Linked DNA regions of Homo sapiens: region 1 is linked to region 2. The links are contacts of gene promoters, found by promoter capture Hi-C in blood cells and fetal thymus (Javierre and others, 2016). All regions are on one chromosome and are shown on one strand. Each heading gives the region's core, a stretch centred on a gene start or on the middle of the fragment in contact. The rest is flanking DNA. Distances are from core to core; before and after follow the strand shown. Region 1 overlaps STIM1 (stromal interaction molecule 1). Region 2 holds the start of CHRNA10 (cholinergic receptor nicotinic alpha 10 subunit).

Region 1 (6,993 bases), core at 1,758-4,257, 370 kb before region 2:
TCTACAAAAAATAAAATTAGCTGTGTGTGATGGCGCGCACCTGTAGTCCCAGCTACTTGGGAGGCTGAGGTGGGAGGATCACCTGGAGTTGAGGCTAGAGTGAGCCAAGATTGCACCACTCCACCCTGAGTGATAGCAAAGATCCCATCTCAAAAAAAAAAAGAAGAATGTGAACTTTGAAACCAGGTGTCTTGATTTGAATTTGCAATCTGCCACTTACTAGATGTAAGACCATGGGCAAATTACTTAATATTTTGTGCCTCATTTTTTTCACCACCAAAATGATGAAAATCAGAGTTTTCACATCATAAAAATGTAGTAAAGGGAAGCTCCTAGCATACTATAAGTGTAAAAAAAATCATCTATAATTATTATCGCCATTCATTTATTCATTCATTCACTAAGCTTTTATTGGCTTCTACTCTAGCAGGTAAAGGGTGAGTTAACCAGCACAGAGGTGAATATGCATGAACTCCAGCCTCAAGGGCTCTCTTCTAGAGAGGGGAATATACAAGGAAACAAATGAATATAATATAGTGTGATAAATGCTAGGTCACAGGGATATATAAGGTGATGTGGGAGCACAGAGAAAGGAGTGACTGACAGAATCAGAAAAGGCATCACAAAACCCAGCTTCTTATTGGTCTGCTCTGAATAACAGCACTCCAAGGCAGCTATCAAATCCTTCCAAAGTGGCCCTTCCTAAAGATAGTGTGTGACCTGGAACTGTGAATTGTCTCTTTAAGTAGCTTCCTTCTGGTTCCCACTAGCAGCTTCTCATCTGGGACTACAGTGAGGTAAAGGTCTTCATTTTCTAATCTGATGTCATTATCAAACCCTGAACCATCATTGCAAAAATAATCTGGCCTAGGCCTCATGTGATAGGCTCACTAGGCTACCAGGCAAAAACCAGGTCTCCCAGGGCCCAACAGGACATGCTATTAAAGACCACCAAGAGAGAAACCACAAGGTTAGTAGAGACAGATTAGAGAAGTCTGGCAGCATGGCTGCAGAGTAGTAAGAGAACCTAGGTGCTATGAAATGTTGGGTAGGCCAAACAACTTATCTAAGATCACACAATCAAACAGTCAAGGACACATTTTTGTGTGCTGCATTCCTACTCTGGGCCAGGCCCTGTGCTAAGTATTAAGAGATAAAATCATATAAAATGCTGCACTCCAGTAGTCTGATGGGAAAACCGGCAGTGGAACAGATCTTTGCATTTAGTGTGCTAAGGGCTGTGAAGAGATAGGGGCTGTGGGAACACAGAAGAAGACACCTAACTTAGCCTGTGGTTTTCAGGGAAGAAGACTTAAAGAAATGATTAATTGAGTTTTAAACAGATCAACAAATGAGAAAGATGAATAGAGGAAACAGCATATATGAAAGCACCATGGGATGAAAAAGAACAACATTTCCTAGGAACTGCCAATAAAGCAGTGCACTTCCAGAGGAGATGTGGTGTGGAATGATGGAAAACAAGTAGATCAGAGAAATAAGCATGGACCTTGTATGCTAAACTCATCTAGCACAATGCCTAGTATATAGAAGGTACTCAGTAAATTTTTAACACAGAAATGTTTACATAAATTATAGGAGAAAAACACTACCTTCTAGGGCCAATACCACAGAGGTAGATAAGGAATAACAGAGAACTACAGCATTAAAATATAAATAAACTCTCAAGATATAAAATACCATCAGGGCTGAGCACGGTGGCTTACACCTGTAATCCCAGCACTTTGGAAGGCCGAGGCAGGCAGATCACATGAGGTCAGGAGTTCAAGACCAGCCTGGCCAACATGATGAAACCCCATCTCTACTAAAAATACAAAAAATTAGCTGGGCGTCATCGTGGGCACCTGCAAACCCAGCTACTTGGGAGGCTGAGGCAGGAGAATCACTTGAACCTGGGAGGCAGAGGTTGCAGTGAGCCAAGATCACGCCACTGTACTCCAGCCTGGGCAACAGAGTGAGACACCATCAAAAAGTACAATATAATAAAATAAAATATCATCAGATTTTTATTTATGTGTACATATTACTCTTTTCTCCCAGATAAGGTAATTCATTTTGAGATTACAGATGGACATTTAATTTCAATACATCTGACTAACATCTCACAGATAAACATGAAAAAAAAATCACTGACATTTTCTTTCTTTCGTTTTTTTTTTTTTTTTTTTTGAGATGGAGTCTTACTCTGTTGCCCAGGCTGGAGTGCAGTGGCATGATCTCAGCTCACTGCAACCTCTGCCTCCTGGGTTCAAGCAATTATCTGCCTCAGCCTCCCGAGTAGCCGTGATTACAGGTGCCCGCCACCATGCCCAGCTAATTTTTGTATTTTTAGTAGAGACGGGGTTGCACCATGTTGGCCAAGCTGATCTTGAACTCCTGACCTTGTGATCCACCTGCCTCAGCCTCCCAAAGTGATGGGATTACAGACATGAGCCACCACGCCCAGCTTCTTTCTTTTTTTCAGAGATAGGGTTTCATTCTGTCACCCAGGCTGAAGTACAGTGGCATGACCATAGCTCACTGTAGCCTCAACCTCTGGGGCTCAAGTGATCCTCTCACAGGGCTGGAATTGCAGGCATGAGTCACCACACAGAGCCAACATTTTCTATAATTTTTTTTCATCAAAAATTACTAAGCTTTGGATATCTTATTCTGTTGAGTCTCAAATGAGACAGCAGTTGTGATCTAAGCTTATCGCTACTCCTACACAAGCTGAAGGGTTATCCGACCAATAGGAAAGCCAGTATTTATTCTTTCAAAATAACATGATTACTATTTATTGCTATACAGGTATTTACTTGTAACATTTTTAACAGTATCTTTATTTCTCCAACTTCCATTTGAGAATATTTCTTACACCCAGAAATTTGATGCCCTAACTTGTTTGTTTCATGTATGAGAGAAAAATGGGAAAACTCTGAAAAATGTAAGCAAAGACCTCGTCAGATCTGGAACCAAGTGAAAGATACATAGCAGTAGAGCTAGGCTGGGCCAAGAATAATGGTATATGAAGAACAACGGCCCAAGCAAAAGAAGATTCAGCTGACACTTCTGTTTCAGGGTAAGCTGAAGTACCAGAGATGGAATTTACCCTCCCTCCTGAATTAAAATTACCCCTCCCAAAAAAGACAACATATATGAAATAATGGTTTTCAGGACACTGGACATCAGCCTACAAAGGACAATGACTCTTGAGAGATAGGAAACAAATGAGGGAAGTTATACAATTGCCCCAGCTTATGGCCTTGAATTTCCAAGCCACAGTGCAAGGATTAAAATCTAAGCTTGAGAGAGGGAAATGAAAATACACTACTGGAAGCTTCTTTTTTTTTTTATTATTATACTTTAAGTTTTAGGGTATATGTGCTACTGGAAGCTTCTTATACTACATGTGACATGTTATAATATATCTTGAAAGTAGGCCCAGTGCAGTGGCTCAGATCTGTAACACCAGTACTTTGGGAAGCCGAGGTAGGCGGATCACCTGAAGTCAGGAGTTCGAGACCAGCCTGACCAACATGGCAAAACCCCATCTCTATTAAAAATACAAAAATTAGCTGGGCGTAGTGGCATGCACCTGTTATTCCAGCTACTCAGGAGGCTGGGGCACGAGAATCTCTTGAACCCAAGAGACAGAGGTTGCAGTAAGCCAAGATCACACCACTGCACTCCAGCCTGGGTTACAAAGCAAGACTCTGTCTCAAAAAAAAAAAAAAGACTGTGATGAGTTAAAGATACATATCTTTTATCTCCTAAAGCAACCACTAAAATACCAGTTATATCTAATAAGCCAACAAAGAAAATACAATTGAATTATAAAAAATACTGAATTAACCCAAAAGAAAGCAGAAAAGGTAGGAAAAGGAATTAAAGAACAGATGGGACAAACGGAAAACAAATAGCAAGAAAATGGACTAACCTAAATTATCTTATATTAATAATCATATCAATCATATTTGATTAATCATATTAATAATCACACCAAACGTAAATGGTCTAAATAATGCAATTAACAGATATTGTCACATTGCAAAATATACATATATATATATAGGACCCAACTATATGCACCTACAGGAAATGTACTTTAAATATAAAAATACAAATAGATTAAATGTAGAGGGATGGAAAAAGACATTCCAAACTAACAACAGTCAAAAGACAGCTATATTTTTATCAAAGTAGATTTCAGAGCAAAGATTACCACGAAGGATAAAGCAGTTCATTTCATAATGTTGAAGGGGTCAGTTAATCACTAAGAAATAATCATCCTAAATCTTTATGCACCTAGTAACAGAGCTTCAAAATACGTGAACCAGAAACTACAAGGAAAAATAGGCAAATCCACAGTTATAACTGGAAACTTAAATACTCCTCTCTAACAATTGATAGAACAAGTATGCAGGCTGGATGCAGTGGCTCACGCCTGTAATTCCAGTACTTTGTGAGGTTGAGGAAGGCAGATCACTTGAGGTCAGGAGTTCGAGACCAGTCAACATGGTGAAACCCTGTCTCTACTAAAAATCCAAAAACTAGCCAGGGATGGTGGGACACACCTGTAATTCCAGCTACTCAGGAGGCTGAGGCAGGAGAATTGCCTGAACCCAGGAGGCGGAGGTTGCAGTGAGCCGAGATCATGCTACTGCACTCTAGCCTGGGCAACAGAGCGAGACTCCATCTCAAAAAAAAAAAAGAAAGAAAGAAAGAAAAGAAAGGAAAAAGATAGAACAAGTAGGTGGAAAATTGATAAAGATATGTAGACTTGAACAATACCATCAACCAACATGACCTGATTTTCTCCCACTCTGTAGGTTGCCTGTTCACTCCGATGATAGTTACTTTTGCTATACAGAGGCTCTTTAATTAGATCCCATTTGTCAGTTTTTGCTTGTGTTGCATTTGCTTTTGGCATTTTCATCATGAAACTTTTGCCTGTGCCTATGTCCTGAATGGTACAGAATGGGAGAAAATGTTTGCAATCTATCCATCTGACAAAGGTCTAATATCCAGAGTCCTCAAGGAACTTAAACAAATATACAAAGAAAAAATAAACAACCCCATTAAAAAGTGGGCAAAAGACATGAACAGATACTTCTCAAAAGAAGATATTCATGCGACCAACAAACATATGAAAAAAGCTCAACGTCACTGATCATTAGAGAAATGCAAATCAAAACCACAATGAGATACCATCTCATACCAGTCAGAATGGCAATTACTAAAAAGTCAAGAAACAACAGATGCTGGCAAGGTTGCAGAGAAAAAGGAACACTTTTACACTGTTGGTGGGAATGCAAATTAGTTCACCATTGTGGAAGACACTGTGGTGATTCCTCAAAGATCTAGAAGCAGAAATACCATTTGACCCAGCAATCTCATTACTGGGTATACACCCAAAGGAATATAAACCATTCTATTATAAAGATAAATGCACATGTATGTTCACTGCAGCACTATTCACAATAGCAAAGACATGGAATCAACCCAAATGCCCATCAATGAAAGACTGCATAAAGAAAATGTGGTATATATATACCATGGAATACTATGCACCCATGAAAAGGAACGAGATCATGTCCTTTGCAGGGACATGAATAGAGTTGGAAGCTGTTATCCTCAGCAAATTCACGCAAGAATGGAAAACCAAACAGTGCATGTTCTCACTTGCAAGTGAGAGCTCAACGATGAGAACACACAGACACATCAGGGGGAACAACATACATTGTCAGGGGAGTGGGAGGAGCGAAAGCATCAGGAAGAACAGCTAATGGCTGCAGGGCTAAACACCTAGGTGACGGGTTATCTGTGCAGAAAACCACCATGGCACACATTTACCTATATAACAAACCTGCACATCCTGCACATGTACCCTGGAACTTAAAAGTTGAAAAAAAAAAAAAAAAGCAAAACAACAAAAACAGACCTGATTGACATTTATAGAACTCTCCACCCAACAGAACACATACAAGTGCACATGGGATATTTAACAAGATAGACCATGTCCTAGGACATGAAAGAAAAAAATCTTAAAATTTTTTAAAGGCTTCAAGTCACATAAAGTATGATCTCAGATCACAATGGAATTAAATTAGAGATCAATAACTAAAAAAGTCTAAAAAAAATCTCCAAATGTTTGGAAACTAAATAACTTGCTTCTAAATAACTTGTGAACTAAAGATGTCAAAAAGGAAATATAAAATATTTTGAGCTAAGTCAAAAAAAAAAGCACAACATTTCATCCAATATAATGATAAACCAATAACGGATGGATCTAAGGTCTAAAACAGATTTTAAAGGTATGCATTTCCAGGGCAAAAAGAATCTCTCAAATTAGAACATATTATTAAGGGATACTAAGTTATTGAAGATTATATCAGGAAAAAAAGTAATAGGAGAACATTTGCCATTAATTGTGTCTTCACTCTAGGTATTTTTATTCGTCTGCGCTACTAATAAATCAGTTGGAAAAGAGGAAAAAAAAAAAAAAACACAATACACCAGAATTTGGGACATGCCTCTAAAGCAGTAGTTAAGGGAGATTTACAGCACTAAATTCTGTATTAGAAAAGAAGAAAGGTCTCATACTGGTGACCTTAGTTTTCACCTTACCAAACTAAAAAATAAAAGAGCAAATGATATCCAAAGTAGCAGATGAAAGAAAATAATACAGATCAAAGTGGAAATCAATGAAATAGAAACCAGAGAAAAATCAATAAAACCAAACACTGGTTCTGTAAAATTAACAAAGATCTAATAAGACCAATCAGTAAAGAAAAGAAGACACAAATTATTAAGATCAGTAATGAGACATTATTACTGATTTTACAGACATTAAAATAAGGCAATTTTATTAACATATACCAGTAAATTTGACAACACAGGTGAAATAGACAAATTTCTTGAAAGACACAAAGTACCTAAGCTCACTCAAGAAATAGATAACCTGAACAGCCTTATACCTATTAAAGAAATTGA
Region 2 (6,840 bases), core at 3,574-6,073:
AGCCTTACCCAGTCCTATCTGCGAGAACTGGCTGTTGGGAGCCTGTGAGCCCCAGGCACTTTGCATCACAGTCACATGCCCATTCACACCACACAGAGGTTCCCTGCCTTGTTTGGATTGGCACTGTTTGCCATTCTCTGGGTTGGCTGTGGCATCTACCCTCCCTCCCTGCTGCCAGAAGCAGCATCCTCCACTTGTTCAGGGCTTTTCTTAATACTGAACGTAGCATAAGGGCTTCTGGAACCCAGAAGAGGAGACAGTTTACCATCCTCAAGATCATTCAGTGTTTTTCCTTTAAAAAAATGGTCAATAAAGCTCCTTTGGCAGAATCCCCCAAAGAACCAGGGTATTCTTTTTCCATCCCTAGCCATTCTGGATCTTGTGACCCTCCATGCCAACCAGCTTCCCTACTCCTACCCTGGCCCTTTTATACTAGGACTCCTTAGGAGGAGTGAGACAGGTGATAATGGATCCTTAACAGATGAACTATCCACAGAAGGAAGAGGGATCCGTCTCTTAAGTAATTGGTTAGTTAACACTGAATTTTGGAGGCAAAGGAGGGTTGGCCTGAGTTAGGAAACAAAATGGGATCTTTCTGACACACTTAGGGCAGAAGTGAATGCCTGTCACGGAGGGATTGATCTTCAGGGCTGTTTTTGTTCCTGCCTTTAGAGTTCCATGAACACCATACCTTTGCTACTACTATGTGCAGGAACCCTTGGTCACATGTGACATGTCTGTGGGAAGCTCCCAGAGTTTGGTTTGGTCCCTGGTTTTCAGTCTTGCTGAGACTCTGTCTGGATTTGCCTGCAGAGTTTGGATAAAAAATGGCAGGTTGGGTAACCCTCCCTGTTCATCCCATGTTAGCTCCAAAGCATTTCCCACCCTCCATCTACCCCTTCCAGAAGCAAAAACAAACCATGACTGAGGCAGGCATGGAGTTGGGCGTTAGGGGCAGGCAGAGGGCCTTTGCTACACTGCTGACAGCTATAGGGAGCCCCAGGTAATGGCATGAGATAGCTGGTGTTAGGGCTATCTCAGGCAATATGGCCACACCTGGGTCTTTATGCATGAAGATAATGTAAAGGTTTTTATTAAAAAATATATATATGTATAAATAAATGATCTAGATATTTTCCTCTTTTTCTGAAGCTACTTTCTTAAAAAATAAATAAAATGTTTATAGCATTCCTGGTATTGGCTTTCCCTTTGTATTTTTGAGCCTTCTTACCCTGAGGATCTTTATGGTGGCCTTGTTTGATTTAGCCTGTTTTTGAATTTGCCTTCTAAATGGAGACAGGCCATGGGCTAAAGAGAACAATTGGGTGCTAAACTGAAAGATAGATTAGCCCAAAGGCTAGATTTATAAGGGGAAATTTAGGGGCAAGGGAGTTGATTATTGATTAATACTGATTGCTGTACATATATTTATGCACATAGATTCCCGGGTCTCAAATTGCCCAATAGAATATACCATTCAAAGCCTCCTCGCTCTTCTACTATAGTGGTTTTGTTTTTAAACCCTGAGTGACGCTTCACCTTTCTAAATCAGATTCCCTTTTGTAAAGGGGATAATGATTGCTGATGTTACTTCACACAGGGCTATTTTCAAGAGGAATCAATTGAGTAGCATGAGTACTATTCCAGATCTTATTTTGATCTGTCAAGCTGAAGATGTGAGCAAATTCCAATTAAGATTAGACCAAAGACTTCTGAGACTTTCAGGAATTCAGGGATGAGAAAGCAGAGTGGGTCAGCTCTGTTGTCTGGAACTTCCATTTAACTTAGATGCCTCAGGATAGGGGTTACTCAGCTGGAATCCCCTCCACTACTGACTCACTATGTGAACCTGAGTGAGTCACAAAACATAGTTGGACTTCCAGCAAAGAACACCTGACCTGGTTTCCTTACCAGAGGAATGTTTCAGAAAGTGAGTATGCTATAGAAATGGTTAGCTCTTAGCAGTGTTCGGAATTGTGGGCCAGGAGTGGTGGCTCACACCTGTAATCCCAGCACTTTGGGAGACCAAGGTGGGAGGATCGTTTGAGGCCAGGAGTTCAAGACCACCCCAGGCTACATGACAAGACTCTGTCTCTAAAAAAAAATAAAATTAGTTGGGCATGGTGGTGTGTGTGCATAGTCCCAGCTACTCAAGAGGCCTAAGCAAGAGGATCGCTTGAGCCTAGGAGCTGAAGGCTGCAGCGAGCCATGATTGTGCCACTGCACTCCAGCCTGGGCAACAGAGCAAGAAAAAAAAGGTTCTCAATCAAAGGTTTATCATAGAAGCCATGTTGTGCATAAAAGAGAATATCAACTTCCAGTTCAAGATAAGGGTGATGAACAATCTCTTCTTTTTTTTTTTTTTTTTTGAGACAGAGTCTCGCTCTGTCCCCCAGGCTGGAGTGCAGTGGGGCACGATCTGCAAGCTCCACCTCCCGGGTTCATGCCATTCTCCTTCCTCAGCCTCCCAAGTAGCTAGGACCACAGGCACCCGCCACCATGCCCGACTAATTTTTTTTTGTATTTTCAGTAGAGACGGGGTTTCACCGTGTTAGCCAGGATGGTCTCGATCTCCTGACCTCGTGATAAGCCTGCCTTGGCCTCCCAAAGTGCTGGGATTACAGACGTGAGCCACCGCGCCAGGCCTGAACAATCTCTTCCACATCCCAAAATCCCGTTGAAATAGTAAAAAATGTTTTAATTTCAAAAAAAATTCTCAAAAACATAAAACAGGAACCAGTTACCTCAACATTCGATAGATCTGTGGAATCTACAACATTCAAATAACTTATTTTCTCAACAGAACCCAAAGTTAACAGAGGTCTGGAGAATTAAATATTGGAATAATTAAGCAAAGGCCTGCAGAGTATCTGCTCTTTTTAGATGTTTCATCTTTAGCTCAGTTTTGTTAATTTGTATTTCCAGAAAATTGTTCCAGATTTTTTGTTATTCAAATAACCAGTCCTTAGACGTATTAATCAATTTTACTGGAGTTCTGTATAATCTTAATTTCTGCTTTAAATGTTCATTTCTTAGGCTTTCCTAAGGATTTGTTAAACCTTGTATTGGTTGGGCACGATGGCTCACGCCTGTAATCCCAGCACCTCGGGAGGCTGAGGAGGGAGAATCCCTTGAGCCCAGGAGTTTAAGACCAGCCTAGGCAACATAGGGAGACCTTGTCTCTTAAAAAATGAACAAAAATTAGCTGGGTGGTGTGCACCTTTAGTTCCAGCTATTCAGGAGGCTGAGGTGGCAGGATGGCTGTAGGGTATTTTGGTAGTTGTTCTTTAACAAGTTAAGGACAGTTCCCCTCTACTAGCTTGAATAAGTGAATGTTGGATTTCAATTTGAAATGATGTGAAACGCTTGTGTGTTAGGAAGGTGGTTGGAGATAAGCAGAGTACCTGGGAGAGGGGACGGGTGGAGAAAGTGCAGGGAATCACTGGCATATCCACGATGCCCAAAGTCATGGCTATGGATGTGATTGCCAGGGAAGTATGTGCTGCTGTTGGTCAGGCAACTGGTCAGCTTGAACAAAAATAATCAAAACTCTGTGCATGATAAATACCTGTGACCTGAGGATAGCCTGGCTACCTTACTGGGACCACAGTGTAAATATTGTTGATGACCTGCTGTACCTTAGGCACCGTGCTAGACAGTGCCTTGCACTATCAGGTTATCTCATTTAAATCCTTGCAGTTTTCAAGATGAGTACTGTTAATCCCATTACCAGATTGAGAGAACAGAAACCCAGAGAGTTTAAATATCTTACCCAAGTGAGAGCGCTCATAAGACAGGGCCGAAAGTGACTGAATGCTTGCCCTCTTCTCCCACACTGCCCACAGTGTTTGGGCAAGGTGAAAAAACAGGCTCAGATGGGAATGACTGCAGGGAGTCTGAGGAGAGGATGTGGGCTCCATCTTCTGCTCCACTGGGTCATCTGGAGTGGCCTGAGGCTCAGCACTACTCCCACCAGGAGGGAAGGGCTTGCTTGACCCAAAGTGCCTAGCCTGGAGTGTCTAGTCCCGCACTGCAAGGAGAGCTGCAGGTCTAAGGCAAACCTCCACCTCCAGAATTCAGGCAATGGTGGCTAAGATGAGAGGACAGTTATCCATCCACTGACCCTGGCCCCTCACACTCTTAAGCCCTGGTCTTCCACATACCCTGACCCAGCATACCTGTACTCTCCAACACCCGAGGATGGGCCTGAGCTGAGTCTGTGTGCTGCTTTACAGAGTTTGAATAATTCAAGCCCCAGAGGCCCGAGGTATCAGTTTCCGTTGCTCTGTTGTCATAGGCACGGTGTAATTAAGCTAATGAAAGGGCAGAGAGGGAGGGGCTGTGGTCCTGTGCCTCGGACGACTCTGGGCTGATCAAGGGAGGAGTCCCTGGTCCCTGTTCTGCTGAGAGAGCAGCAGGCCCATCTAGAGTCCAGGTGTGGGGAATGGAAGAAGGAAGGAATGAGGGATGAAACAGAAGTAGGAGAAAGGGAGAGAGAGTGGAAAGAGGCAGGCAGGGGATGATCAGAGTCAGGGAGGCAGAGAGACCAAGAAAGTTACAGACGGAAAGAGAAGGAAGCAGAAACAGAGTGAAAGACAAAGCAGGTGGGGAGCATAGGAAAGGGCAGAGGCAGAGGCCAGAAGAGGCAAGGACCAGCAGAGAAGAAGAAAGACCAAGTACTAAAATCCAGGGGCAGGCACAAATTGGAGGGTCAGAAGACTGGAGGGGCTGCAGGGCTCGCTGGAGGGTGGCTGGACCCACCAGAGATCTGTCTTACTTCTGACTTCTAGGTACTGTCCACACCATCCTTGCCAGCTGGGCCTAATTTTGCCCTAGGTCTGGCCAGGAGGCCTCACATCCAGAGACCTGCCCCCGCTCTTGCAGTGCCAGGGCCATGGGGCTCCGGAGCCACCACCTCAGCCTGGGCCTTCTGCTTCTGTTTCTACTCCCTGCAGGTATGAAGCTCAGTACACCAGCCCTGGCCTCTCCTGGTGGTGCTACTATTCCTGTTCTCCCAAAATCCCTTTCCATGTAGTCTCTCTTGTGTTTCTCCTCAGTACCTGTTCTGAGAACAAGCTCTCTATTTGGGGAGTGTGGAGGAGAGGGGTGCTGAAGTGCGTGAGAGGAGACTTGCCTGGCTAGGGTGGAAACAGTGAGCGGGGAGCTTCCAGAGACAGGGCTGGGAAAATCAGAGGGGCCAGATGTTGAAGGGCCTGCCGGCCAGGCCAGGTCTTTCTCCTGCAGATGACGGGGAGCACTGAAAGGTTTCAGCAGCATACTAGCCTGGTCAGATGTGCATGCTTAAAAGCGTGGTCCTGGGGCATGGGAGGGGTAGAAGAAGGTGAGCCTTTGGGGAAAGGGAGACAGTGAAGGGAGGGCCCTGACCTGGAGGGGAGAGGGTAGACTCAAGACGATGTTTCGCAAAATCTGGAGGATTTGAATGATCTGACAGGATCTGGAGATTAACTGGATTCCCCGAGGAGGAGGCAGCAGAGGGAGAAGGGAGGGATAATTCCCAGATTTCCAACTAAGGTCACTGTTGAAGCTGAGGGCATGCTATTTGCTGAGATAGGGAACATGGGATAGGAAGCAGGTTTCAGAGCATGGAGGGAGGAAGCGAGTTCATATTTTGGACCCTCAGAGTTGAAGGTGCCTGTGGGAAACTCAGGAGTGGACTGTACTCTATTGGGGTCTGGAGCTCAGGAGAAAAATCTGGGATGAAGAAAAAGATGGGAGCCAAGGACAGGATTCATGGGAACAATGTTTAGGTCAGGGATTGAGGAAAATTTGTGTCAGTAAAGCCTGGGGAAGTGTGTTTTCAGAGTGAGGGAGTGTTCCATCGCATCAGAAGTTTTGAAGAAACCAGCTCGAGATGGAGAAGTGGAAACAGGTTTGAGAGATACTGGAGGGGGCAGAGCAGTGGGGTTTAGAATCCCTGGGTGAAAGTCTGGACTCTTGTGGCTTATTTGGGCCCCTCTAGCATTTGTGGAGAGGCAGGCAGACTCCAGGTCCTTGAAAAGGGGAGGGTGGAGGAGAAATTTGTCAGCCTGGCGCCAGAAGATAGTACCAGTTCACTCCATGGCCTTTACCTCATGTGTCCCTGCAGGCAGGCCAGGGAGGAACTAGAGCCACAGCTAGAGCAAGAGAAGGCAGACACCAGGAGGACACTCATAAGGACAGGGCCCCAGCCCTGGGAGTGGAGGGTGTGAGCAGAGGCCCTGGGACTAGGGCCTGGGATGGACAACCCTCCTTACTGACCCTCCAGAGTGCCTGGGAGCTGAGGGCCGGCTGGCTCTCAAGCTGTTCCGTGACCTCTTTGCCAACTACACAAGTGCCCTGAGACCTGTGGCAGACACAGACCAGACTCTGAATGTGACCCTGGAGGTGACACTGTCCCAGATCATCGACATGGTGCGTTGTGGTGGTGGTACAGCTGTGGAGTCTTACCTGTCACAGTGTCAAGAAATGAAGGGGTGAGAGACTGGGATTATTCTCCATGGAATTTCTTTTCTGTAAATGTTAATATTAACAAAGGTAGCAGTTACAAACTGTTGGGTACTGACTGTTGGGTACTGAGTATTGGGTGCCTACCTCGTGCCCAATATTTTGTTCACCTGAACTTACTGAATCCCTGCTAAGCAGGGATTCTCACCCCATATTCCTGCTGAGGAAACAGGGGCAGAAAAGAGAAGAGCCCACTAAGGTCACATGGCAAGGTCAGGTCTGGGTGGGAACTGGACGGTATGGACAAGTCAGGTTTGTGGGTGCTGACCAGAGCCCTGCAGGGGAGTGTGCACAGACAGGGCAGGATATGCATATACATGTCCACATCTCTGCCAT

What was found. Contacts are between HindIII fragments. The CHiCAGO score rates a contact against its expected background, and 5 or more counts as called.
Region 1: a contact is called between a fragment that was not itself captured here and the fragment with the promoter of CHRNA10 in region 2, in 6 of 17 cell types (total CD8 T cells, non-activated CD4 T cells, total CD4 T cells and 3 more). The highest score is 6.0, in total CD8 T cells.

The regions. Positions count from the first base shown.
Region 1 is chr11:4,034,780-4,041,772 of GRCh38, reverse strand. The region is part of intron 3 of STIM1 (stromal interaction molecule 1); the gene reads right to left. Among named protein-coding and RNA genes, the nearest start is that of RRM1, 57 kb to the left of the region's middle. The HindIII fragment of the contact is 594 bases long and covers 2,711-3,304 here.
Region 2 is chr11:3,669,367-3,676,206 of GRCh38, reverse strand. It overlaps CHRNA10 (cholinergic receptor nicotinic alpha 10 subunit), which reads left to right and starts at 4,823. Exons shown (of 5, transcript NM_020402.4): 1 at 4,823-4,955; 2 at 6,266-6,411. The coding sequence starts at 4,895. It overlaps NUP98 (nucleoporin 98 and 96 precursor), which reads left to right. Exons shown (of 33, transcript NM_016320.5): 33 at 1-1,188. The coding sequence ends at 48. The HindIII fragment of the contact is 7,798 bases long and covers 1-6,840 here.